Regions from separate parts of the Homo sapiens genome. Here region 1 is linked to region 2. The links are contacts of gene promoters, found by promoter capture Hi-C in blood cells and fetal thymus (Javierre and others, 2016). All regions are on one chromosome and are shown on one strand. Each heading gives the region's core, a stretch centred on a gene start or on the middle of the fragment in contact. The rest is flanking DNA. Distances are from core to core; before and after follow the strand shown. Region 1 overlaps PRKAA1 (protein kinase AMP-activated catalytic subunit alpha 1). Region 2 holds the start of DNAJC21 (DnaJ heat shock protein family (Hsp40) member C21).

Region 1 (4,891 bases), core at 256-2,755, 5.8 Mb before region 2:
GAGGCTGCAGTGAGCCGTGATGGCATCACTGCACTCCAGCCTGGATGACAGAACGAGACTGGATCTCAAAATATAGATAAATTTAAAACCCCGCCCCCCCAAAAAAACACAAAAAACAAAAATGAAAAGGTAGTTGCTATGTAAGATTTTTTTTTTAGCAAGCATATTAAAGATAAAATGCTATGATATTTTATTAAATGAATTAAGGTGTTTGTTGTTAAAATGTCTTCTATTTTAGGACATATAGCAACATAGTTGCTTGCTGGTTTATGAATAGTGCTTAAATATTACTTCCTCATGGTCTAAAATAGTGTCCCTCACCCCACTATCACTCACTGCACCTATATTTTGCTTTATTTTTCTTCAAAACAGTATCACTCCTTCTGACTATATTTATTAGTCTATTTTCATCAACTAGATTAGCCTTTGTTTTATTCATTGCTGTGTAATGAGTGTCTAAAGCAATGTGTAGCACGTTGAAGGTATTCAGTAATTTGTTAAAAGAATGAAAGAGTAAACATTTGCCGCTTATAAAAGGAAATATGCCAAATTTCAAGTAGATATTGAAATTATTTGAAATAACTCATGAGATATAGAGGAAGGCAAGCTGTTACAATGTAGTCATATGCAAATGATAATATTAGAAACTTGAGTTACTGATTTGGGTTCCAAGACCATCTTAGCATTTCTGTTTTGTGCTGCAGGTATCTCCTCCTCATGTCAAAAGTATCTCATAAGTGAAGTTCATTGGGAAGATTTTCATGTATTTTGACAATTTTATAGGTTGGAGAATTATAGATAGGACAATTTACTTTGAAAGACACACCTTTAAAAAGCCTCTCTAACTTTTCTTAGCTGGATGAAAAAGAAAGTCGGCGTCTGTTCCAACAGATCCTTTCTGGTGTGGATTATTGTCACAGGCATATGGTGGTCCATAGAGATTTGAAACCTGAAAATGTCCTGCTTGATGCACACATGAATGCAAAGATAGCTGATTTTGGTAAGGATAATTTTATAGTTTCTTAACGTTCATTTCTAATGTTCTTATAGTTTCAATGAACCTACCTAGAATTCTTCAGATAACTGTAAAAGATTACATAAAGTAATAGACTGAGTATATCAAAGTATTCTGTTTTGTCTATGAAGATACAAAAAGAAGAAAAGCTAAGAAATCATCTTTTCTTAGCTTTAAATGTCTTTATTACTATTATTTTATAGAGGCAGGGTTTCGCTTTGTCGCCCAGGCTGGAGGGCAGCGACGTGATCATAGCTCACTGCATCCCCAAACTACTGGGCCAGGTGACCCTCCTGCCTCAGCCTCCTGAGTAGCTGGGACTGCAGGCGTGCACTACCATGCCAGGCTGTTTTGTCTTTTTGTAGAGACAAGTTCTCACTATGTTGTCCAGGCTGCTCTTGAACTCCTGGCCTCAAGTGATCTTCCTACCACAGCTTCCCAAAGTATTGGGATTACAGGTGTGCACCACTGCACCTGGCTCTTTAAATATCTTTAAAATTAAATTTTAAACAACTTAAGTTGGTAGTATTAGAGAGACTATTTGAAAAGAGTATTATTTGTGAAAGAGAAGGTAGCAGCTTTATTTCCAGTATGTTCAAAAGAATCAAGTATGGAGAAGAAGGAAAGTGAGTGGGATGGAATTATTTAAAACCTTAAAAACCAGAAGTGAACTATGTGAATTTAATTATTTAAAATTATTTAAAACAATTTTTTAATTAAAAAAATTTATTTAAAAATTTAAAAATGTTTTAAATGATAGTAAATTATAATTTGTTTAAAGAACATTTTGATTGTTAAAAATGAATTTATTTTGGCTGGGCGTGGTGGCTTATACCTGTAATCCCAGCATTTTGGGAGGCCGAGGCGGGCGGATCACCTGAGGTCAGGAGTTCGAGCCCAGCCTGGCCAACATGGTGAAAACCCATCTCTACTAAAAATACAAAATTAGCTGGGCATGGTGGTGCGTGCCTATAGTCCCCACTACCCTGGAGGCTGAGGCAGGAGAATTGCTGGAACCCAGGAGGTGGAGGTTGTAGTGAGTTGAGATCGCCTGTCCGGCCTGGGCGACGGAGTGAGACACGGTCTCAAAAAAAAAAAAAAAAAAAAAGAATTTATTTTTTCTGTATTTCCTATATAAATTGCCATTGACCTTACTAAACCTAAGAGAAAAAGGAATCTCTTCTTTTCTTTAGGTTGGTTTTAGTTCAAATCAGATAACTTTTTTTTGTTTGTTTTTTGTTTTGAGACAGAGTTTCACTCTGTCACCCAGGCTGGAGTGGTACGATCTCGGCTCACTGCAACCTCTGCCTTCCAGGCTCAAGTAATTCTCCCACCTTGGCCTCCCAAGTAGCTGGGACCACAGATGTGGGCCACCACATGCAGCTATGTTTTTTTTAATTTTTGGTGGAGATGGGGAATCACTATGTTGGCCAGGCCGGACTCGAACTCCTGAGCTGAAGTGATCCGCCTGTCTTGGCCTCCCAAAGTGCTGGGATTACAGGCGTGAGCCACCATGTCTGGCCCAGAGAACATTCTTATAAAAATTTTCCTCAGTTTTGACTACATCTATGTATCTATATCTATAACTATATCTATTTAAATGTTCAGAGATTAACTGGAAAATGCCAACCAAACCTGAGCTGGTTGTTTTGGTGTTTTGTTTTTTTTTAAAATAGTAATTGGCTAAATTATTTGAATTTCTTATTCCTCAGTTGATTATTTTTATAGGGTGCATTTTTGAGGGAGCAACAGTTTCTTTTTGGAGTAAAACTGTGAGGGAACTTTGAAATTCAAAATTACTGTTTTTTTTTTTTTTTTTTTTTTTAAAGAATCAGAACAGGCTTAATAGGAACTTTGAATTTTAATCCTTCTATTCATCTGTTATAGATTATTTTCCCTAGTGATTTCTGTATTAATAAAACTTAAACATGGCAAGTTTTTTCTAATAAGCAAAATAACCAACAGCTTAATATATTTGTATTAAACTCTAACAGTGCACTAACTTTAAATGTTGAAATAGATTACACATTTTAGGGCATAATGGCAGAATATTTGGCTACAATAGACCATAGGATTTTGTTGAAGCAAATAACAAAATGATGATTTATCATTTTAATGCAAACTCAATTTTATTGTTTAATGGGATTTTAATTTTTGTCTTTGGGAAATCTTTTGAGTAGCTGATTTTGTGCACTTTCAGGTCTTTCAAACATGATGTCAGATGGTGAATTTTTAAGAACAAGTTGTGGCTCACCCAACTATGCTGCACCAGAAGTAATTTCAGGAAGGTAGTATTTGATACCCTGCCTCCCTCAATACATTTGAAATTGTCTTTTTCTCCTAGATTTTGTTAGTCTATAGTGTCATATTTAATTCTAATGAAAGGAAAGAAAGATAAGGCTTATTCTTAACCACATTTATATGTGAATGAGGGTTAAGGACTACAAGTCAACATTATATTAAAGTTGTTAGAAGAGAGTACATTAATTTTTTTCCCAGGTGGAAGAAATGGAAAGTTTAAAACTAGGGTGTTTAAAAAGTAGGTAAGACACTGGAAACTTGAATAATACAGAAATATCTAGTAGTTAGAAAAGGATTACTATTTACTTAGAGGAAAAATTAAACATGTAATGTGTAGCTTTAATTTTTTACATAGATGGCATTTTGTAGTACCTTTATGTTTCATGATAAAATGTCTTGGGGAACTGGGCTGAAGTAATCTTTAGACTTCATTTATGTTGAATCTTTGTTCTTTAAACCTTTTAGAGACTGCAATATTATAAGAATTTTAACCTCTCAATTTACTAACTACCAGCATTGAGAACATGAAGATATTTGTACAGTGTCGCTTTTTGAATAGTTTGGAAAACAGGAGAATTTAATATTTTTAAGAATAACTCTTTGTCCTTCACTATACTACTGAAATTGAAAACAGAAGCTGAAGTTTGCTAGATTTATAATGAACTTTTAATAACTTTTCACCCAAACCATGCTTATTTGTGTGAATGTTTTGCATCTTGATTAACTCAATGCAGAAATACTGTAGTATTTTCTATTTTTATAAGCTTGTTGGCCTAGACTGCTCAAAGAAATGAGATTTGTGTAAAAATATGGCTGTGAGTAAGGCAGGAGTACCTAATTTTAGATTTGTCAAGTTTCATCTTTTTTTTAAATATTAACTTAATGTCAAAAATTATTTAAAAAATTTTTAAAAAAATGGTGTTGTCTATCTTAATTCTTTTAGGAATAAAACAATTCAGGACATGGAGACTGTGGAAAGTTGTTATTTAAATAAATAAAAAGAAATGTTATAACTGTGCATATATGCAATGGGCTATTACTGAAATTTAATTTTTCTAGTTTGGATAAAGTCTTTCTTCAAGCTCTTGGTGTATGAGAACTTTTACTTTCAAAATAATATTTATCGATCAGTTCAGCAGTACATAAATTTAAAGAAATCCTTTTCCTGAATCCAGGCTTTGAATGGGTGATCTAACTAGTCTGCAGCTAGTTAAGGCACTTGACTACAATGCACTGCAAACGGGATTTAAAAACTCTGTGAACCAATTTGCCTGGCTTTCTTTCACAGCCTCAGGATCCTTTCACCTTGGTGTAAGGGGTCTTGTGTTATTGGGATTGTGGGCTCAGAGTCCATTACTAAAGAACATTCTCAGTTGATGAAATATCACTTAATCTCTCCTCTGTAACAAAAACCAATGGTTTTAAATTGAATAGTGATATGTTTGTTCAAGATTTGGCCCTATTGTCAGATCCCATCAGGGCCATAGTAAATAGTAGAACAGAATTTTAGCCATGGTGTGTAATTTACAAACTTCTTGACTTTTGTTTTCAAAGATAATACTGATGGAATTAACG
Region 2 (5,031 bases), core at 2,173-4,672:
GCCTCCTGGCATTCACACCTTGTGCAGTCCCTTCTGTGTCAGCAAGGGTAGTCTGTGTGACCAACAGGAGATGGCAGAAGTAATGGTACCTCACTTCCGAGATGAGGTTATAAAAGACTGCAGTTTCTACCTTGGGCTTTCCCTCTCTCTTGATCACTCTGGGAGTGGCCAGCTGCCATAGCATGAGCAACTCAGGCTGCCTATGGAGAAGCTGGAGAAGCTCATGGGGTGAAGGAGGCCAATAGCCGGCAGAGCACTGAGGCCTGCCACAACCACATGAGTTGGTGGTTGGTGAGCTGGTGAGTTGGTGAGCTGGAAGCAGGTTCTTTCAGACAATGAGAAAGCCAAAACCACCTAGCAAAGCCGCTCCCAGATTCTCATCCTTAGAAACTGTGGGAGTCCATATAGTCAACATAGGCTTGCTGTTTTTGTTGTTTGTTGTCTTAAGCCCTGAGGTATTGGTAATTTGTTACACAGCAATAGACAACTAATATATTCAGAACGTAAAGCATTTTGAATTGACTATGGAGAACACTAAAGTTCGTTTTTTTTTTTTTTTTTGAGATGGAGTCTCGCTCTGTCACCAGGCTGGAGTGCAGTGGCGCGATCTTGGCTCACTGCAACCTCTGCCTCCTGGGTTCAAGCGATTCTCCTGCCTCAGCCTCCCAAGTGGCTGGGACCACAGGCGTGCGCCACCACGCCCAGCTAATTTTTGTGTTTTTAGTAGAGACAGGGTTTCACCATGTTGGCCAGGATGGTCTCCATCTCCTGACCTCAGGTGATCCGCCCACCTCAGCCCCTCAAAGTGCTGGGATTACAGGTGTGAGTCACCGCACCTGGCCGGAGCACACTAAAGTTCTTTAAGCTACAGCTCAATACTTCCCTTCTAAGAAGTTACAAGAAAACATGACAGCAATGTCTTATCTACAAATAGTTTTGCCGCCCTAGAACATGGCTCTTCAGGGCTTCCTGCTGCCCATTCTCAGATACCATCACACTGATGCCATAAATTATGATGATATTTAGAGAAGATATTTGCATTCAGTTCCTAACAGGTTTGGTTTCAAAGGAGTTAACTGATACTTTAGTCATATTTGCATGCTTCTTCCTAGCACTGATTTCTAATTAATCACCAAATCTGGTCATTTTTCCTTCCCAACATCTCCTCCCCTTGCGCTTTCCCCCTCCCGCTGACCCCAAGCCTGGCTTGGGCCCTTACCTGTCTGTCCACTGCGGACTCTCCCTAACTTCTGTCTCCAGCCCTCTTCAATCCACTAAGTTGCCTTCATAGTACTCTCCCATGGCAGCTTAATAAAACCAGCCACAACTCTCCCTTATTTAGCGAAGCAAATTTCACAGTCCTTGGGCTAATATTCAAGATTACAAGAAATACAATCTGATTTCAAACTACTCTTGTACTCAAGAAATACAATCTGATTTAAAATCACTCTTCAGAAAATTACATACGCTTTTGGTCACAGCATTCGCTACTTCATTTACCCTTTCCCACCTAGAAAGTCAAGGAATTCCGAACTTCCTTCTAATTCCTAACTTGATTTCTAACAGTAACAACCCAAACTCCTAAGAATATGCTTCTACACTAACCCAAACTCTAAGAATATACTTCTACACTATTTTTACATTTATTAATTTTGGCTGTATCTTCTGACTTACTGCTATGATGAACATCAGTTCATTTACTTCTGCTCTTCTAATATATTTATAATCACATTTTTTCACGCCTCTGTTGGTAAGCATAACTTTAAGTAACAGACCCACACCTCTATCTCTCACTCCATCACCATAGCCATTCCCTTTTGACTTTGGGTCCCTGACCTTTCCTTCCACTCCTCTCATAATCCCTATTTTTCAGACCTGCAATACACACCACCTTCAGTCAAACTGTCCCCCGGAACATCTTTTGTCCTCCACCATGCTATCCTCCATACTGTTGAGTTCACTTTTCCAAATTGCATTCCTCTACGATCCAGTCCAAACTCCTCTGAGAAGGGGAAGACTCAATACAAAATGGTAACTCCCTCCCTGAATTCCTGGAGCATATATTAGTTGTTCCATTAATCTAACCACCAATTATGTATGTTGCGATTTTTTTCTGGCAGTTGTATTTAACTTTTCATTTGTGTAAGGCAGAAAGTTGTTTTCCTAACAAGACTCTAAGACCCCTGTCTCAGCATTTCCAAATCTACTTAGTAGAGTGCAGTGACTTGCATATATTGGATACTCTGTAACCGTGTTTACTGATGAATGCTAATATGAAAGCCTCTTCATATGAACCTCAAAAAGCTGAAAGTCAACTACTCTCTTAGTTTCCCAGCCTGGAAGATCAGATTACTTCATAAAAGTCACACAGGCCTGGATTACAGACCAATGAAACATCCAAAGGAAGGATACTTCTAAGTAAACATACAAACTTTACTGGGGAAGCCGCCTGATTAAAACCTTCCCCGGCAGAATCATGTCCAAAGTGAAGTACAAGGTCTGCTTAAACAGCTTATTAAAAGAAAAAAAAAACAGCGAAAAAAGCGCATCCCTATTGAAAAGATATTTTACTAGCTCCCGTGTCTTAACTTCTTAACTAAGAAACGAAAAGAGCCATACATCAGGTTGAAGTATCTGGGATTCCCGGACGAGGTGGAGGGCAGCGGAGGAAAAACACCGAGAGGCTGCGCTGCAAGGGACGCAGGGAAAAGCAAGCCTGGGGCAGGTCTGAGTTCCGAGTTCCCGACTGCTCCCTCGTGGTGTCTGCGACCCGGTAGCGGGAGCAAGTGAGGTTGTTGGACTGCAGTTTTCCCCCTACAGTGGCGATGCGGGGCCGGGGTCGCGGGTATGAGGAGATGGGGTGTGAGCCGGGGTGCGCCAGGGCAGAGCGCTTCGCCCACCGAGACGGGCAGGGCGGCTCCGGGCACTGGCCGGGCGGGGCAAGGAGCTCCTAGGCCGCCAGGTCCCTCTCTGCTGGCTCCGCGGAGTCCGCCCGGGGGAAGGGAAGGTCGGGGAGGGCCGGGCTTCTCCGAGTGGCCGCGGGGGCTGCGGGACAGGTACTTACCCGGGTGCCATTTCAGGGCCAGCTTCCGATAGGCCTTCTTGAGCTCCTCCTCGCTGGCGTCGCGCCGCACCCCCAGCGCCTCATAGTGACACTTCATCGCCCGACCGGGCGGGCGGCCGGCGCTGGGGCCCGGGACGGGGTCGGGGCCCGGGCCCGGGCCGAAGCGGCGGCGGCGGCGGCGCTGGCAGTCCTCTCCGGCGGGAGTCCGCCGCCCGCACCGGGCCAGCCAGCGAGCCCGGCGGCGGCGGCGGCGGCGGCGGTGGTGTAGGTCAGTGAAGGCGCGCGGTGGCGGCAGACGACGCAGGCTGCGGCAAGCGGGAGCGCGGCGGGGGCGGTGCCGGCGGCCGCCGCTTCGCATGGGCTAGGGGTGGGCTCTGTGCCGGAAAGGGCCGCGCGGGAGGGGGTGGGGCCTCGGCGGGGTGAGAGGCGAGGCCCCGAGGAAGGAAGGCGGGGCCTTGGCGAGGAGAGAGGCGGGCCGCGCAGGAGAAAGGCGGGAGCTTGGCGGGGAAAGAGGCGGGCCGCGTGGGAGGAAGGTAGGCCTTGGCCGGGAAGAACAGGAGGAAGGCGGGACCTTGGTGTGAGAGGCGGGGCCTCGGCGGGGCGAGAGGCGGGGCCGCGCGGAAGGGAGGCAGGGCCACGCTGGTGTCATTGTGAGGGGCACAGATGGCGGTCAGTGTGAGTGGCAGCCGACCTGAGGGCTGAAGGGGGAGATAGGAGCTGGGATGGGAGAGGATTCTGGAAAATATCTGATTATAATTTCTCAATGGATCCCCGTTTTTATAGATAAGGCGATTCAGACTCCAAGTGGTCAAGTGGTTGGCTCAAGCCTCCTCAGCTAATACAGTAGCAGAATTCGGTTGGACTGAATATCAGGTTTTTTTTTTAATCTCTTTAATTCTCTTCAGCTGCCACTTAAGATATCTGGTATTGATCATCTTGACCAATATGCTTGAGAAAGGACAGTTAGATTATTTAAGCGGAAACAATTTAAAAGGGAAGCATCAACACACTTAATGAAAAGCCTTACCACCAACATGGATGAAATTGTGCTGATCTATCCATCCAACACACTTTAATCCTAACTTTCTGGCCTCTAATCCTACCTTTCCAAGATTGGTTTAGGTTAAGAAAGCAGTTAAAGGATAGTATTTAACTGGTAGGTTTTGGTTGATCTGACTATCTGCACAATTATTCCAAACACTTTGAAAGGTATCAAAATAATACCATAATTATTAAAATGCATTAATACACCAATATATTTCACTGTAATGTGGAATGTTTACATGCATCAGTTAGGTGTGGGTTGTATTTACTAACCATGTATGGTTAGCTATGTTGCTAATATCTATTGCACAGGGTTGGCGTACCCAAGCGGTTTAGTAAGGTTATCCTTCTCTTCCCCAATATGCTGCCCCCAGTAAAATAAAAAACCCACGCTAAGCTTCATCAGGTTACTTCACACGCCACTGACCAACCAACTCACTACTCAGAATTCATACACTTCCCTTTTTTCCAGAGGAAGATTCTACACAGTCTCAGTTAGTTGGTAAATTGGTAATGGATAAGGATTGAGAAGTCTGAGTTTGGGGGAGAATGAAACCTTTCCCCTCCTGAGAACAGAATTGGGATGGTGGGCGGGGGGAAGGGAGGGACAAAAAAAAAAAAAAAAACGGAAAGGGAAAGTATTTTTTTCCCTCCAACTTAATTTGGAGTATTTTCTCCCTCCAACTTGATTTGGTTTTGGATACAGCCTGTAGGAATCACTTACTTCTTTTACCTTCTGAAGTAAGAAGGATTTTTGCCTGTAACATTGTATAATTAAAGGTAACTATGCTGGATATAAATTTCAGTCTAAAGGAACATCTTGACCAGGCGTGGTGGCTCATGCCTGTAATCCCAGCACTTTGGGAAGCCGAGGCAGGAGGATCCCTTCAGCCCAAGAGTTCAAGACGAGCCTGGGCAACATA

Evidence for each region. The method cuts DNA at HindIII sites, captures the fragments that hold promoters and counts their contacts. A CHiCAGO score of 5 or more calls a contact.
Region 1: a contact is called between a fragment that was not itself captured here and the fragment with the promoter of DNAJC21 in region 2, in 1 of 17 cell types (neutrophils). The highest score is 5.3, in neutrophils.

Annotation. Positions count from the first base shown.
Region 1 is chr5:40,767,828-40,772,718 of GRCh38, reverse strand. It overlaps PRKAA1 (protein kinase AMP-activated catalytic subunit alpha 1), which reads left to right. Exons shown (of 9, transcript NM_006251.6): 4 at 856-1,000; 5 at 3,216-3,303. All of the region lies in intron 1 of LOC124900968 (a long non-coding RNA gene), which reads right to left. Among named protein-coding and RNA genes, the nearest start is that of TTC33, 14 kb to the right of the region's middle. The HindIII fragment of the contact is 5,154 bases long and covers 1-4,082 here.
Region 2 is chr5:34,927,950-34,932,980 of GRCh38, reverse strand. DNAJC21 (DnaJ heat shock protein family (Hsp40) member C21) reads right to left here and starts at 3,422. Exons shown (of 12, transcript NM_001012339.3): 1 at 3,065-3,422. The coding sequence starts at 3,161. It overlaps LOC124900961 (a long non-coding RNA gene), which reads left to right and starts at 3,300. Exons shown (of 2, transcript XR_007058731.1): 1 at 3,300-3,332; 2 at 3,848-5,031. RefSeq lists enhancers at 2,657-2,826, 2,293-2,938 and silencers at 2,967-3,166, 3,197-3,266, 3,277-3,746. The HindIII fragment of the contact is 5,598 bases long and covers 1-4,507 here.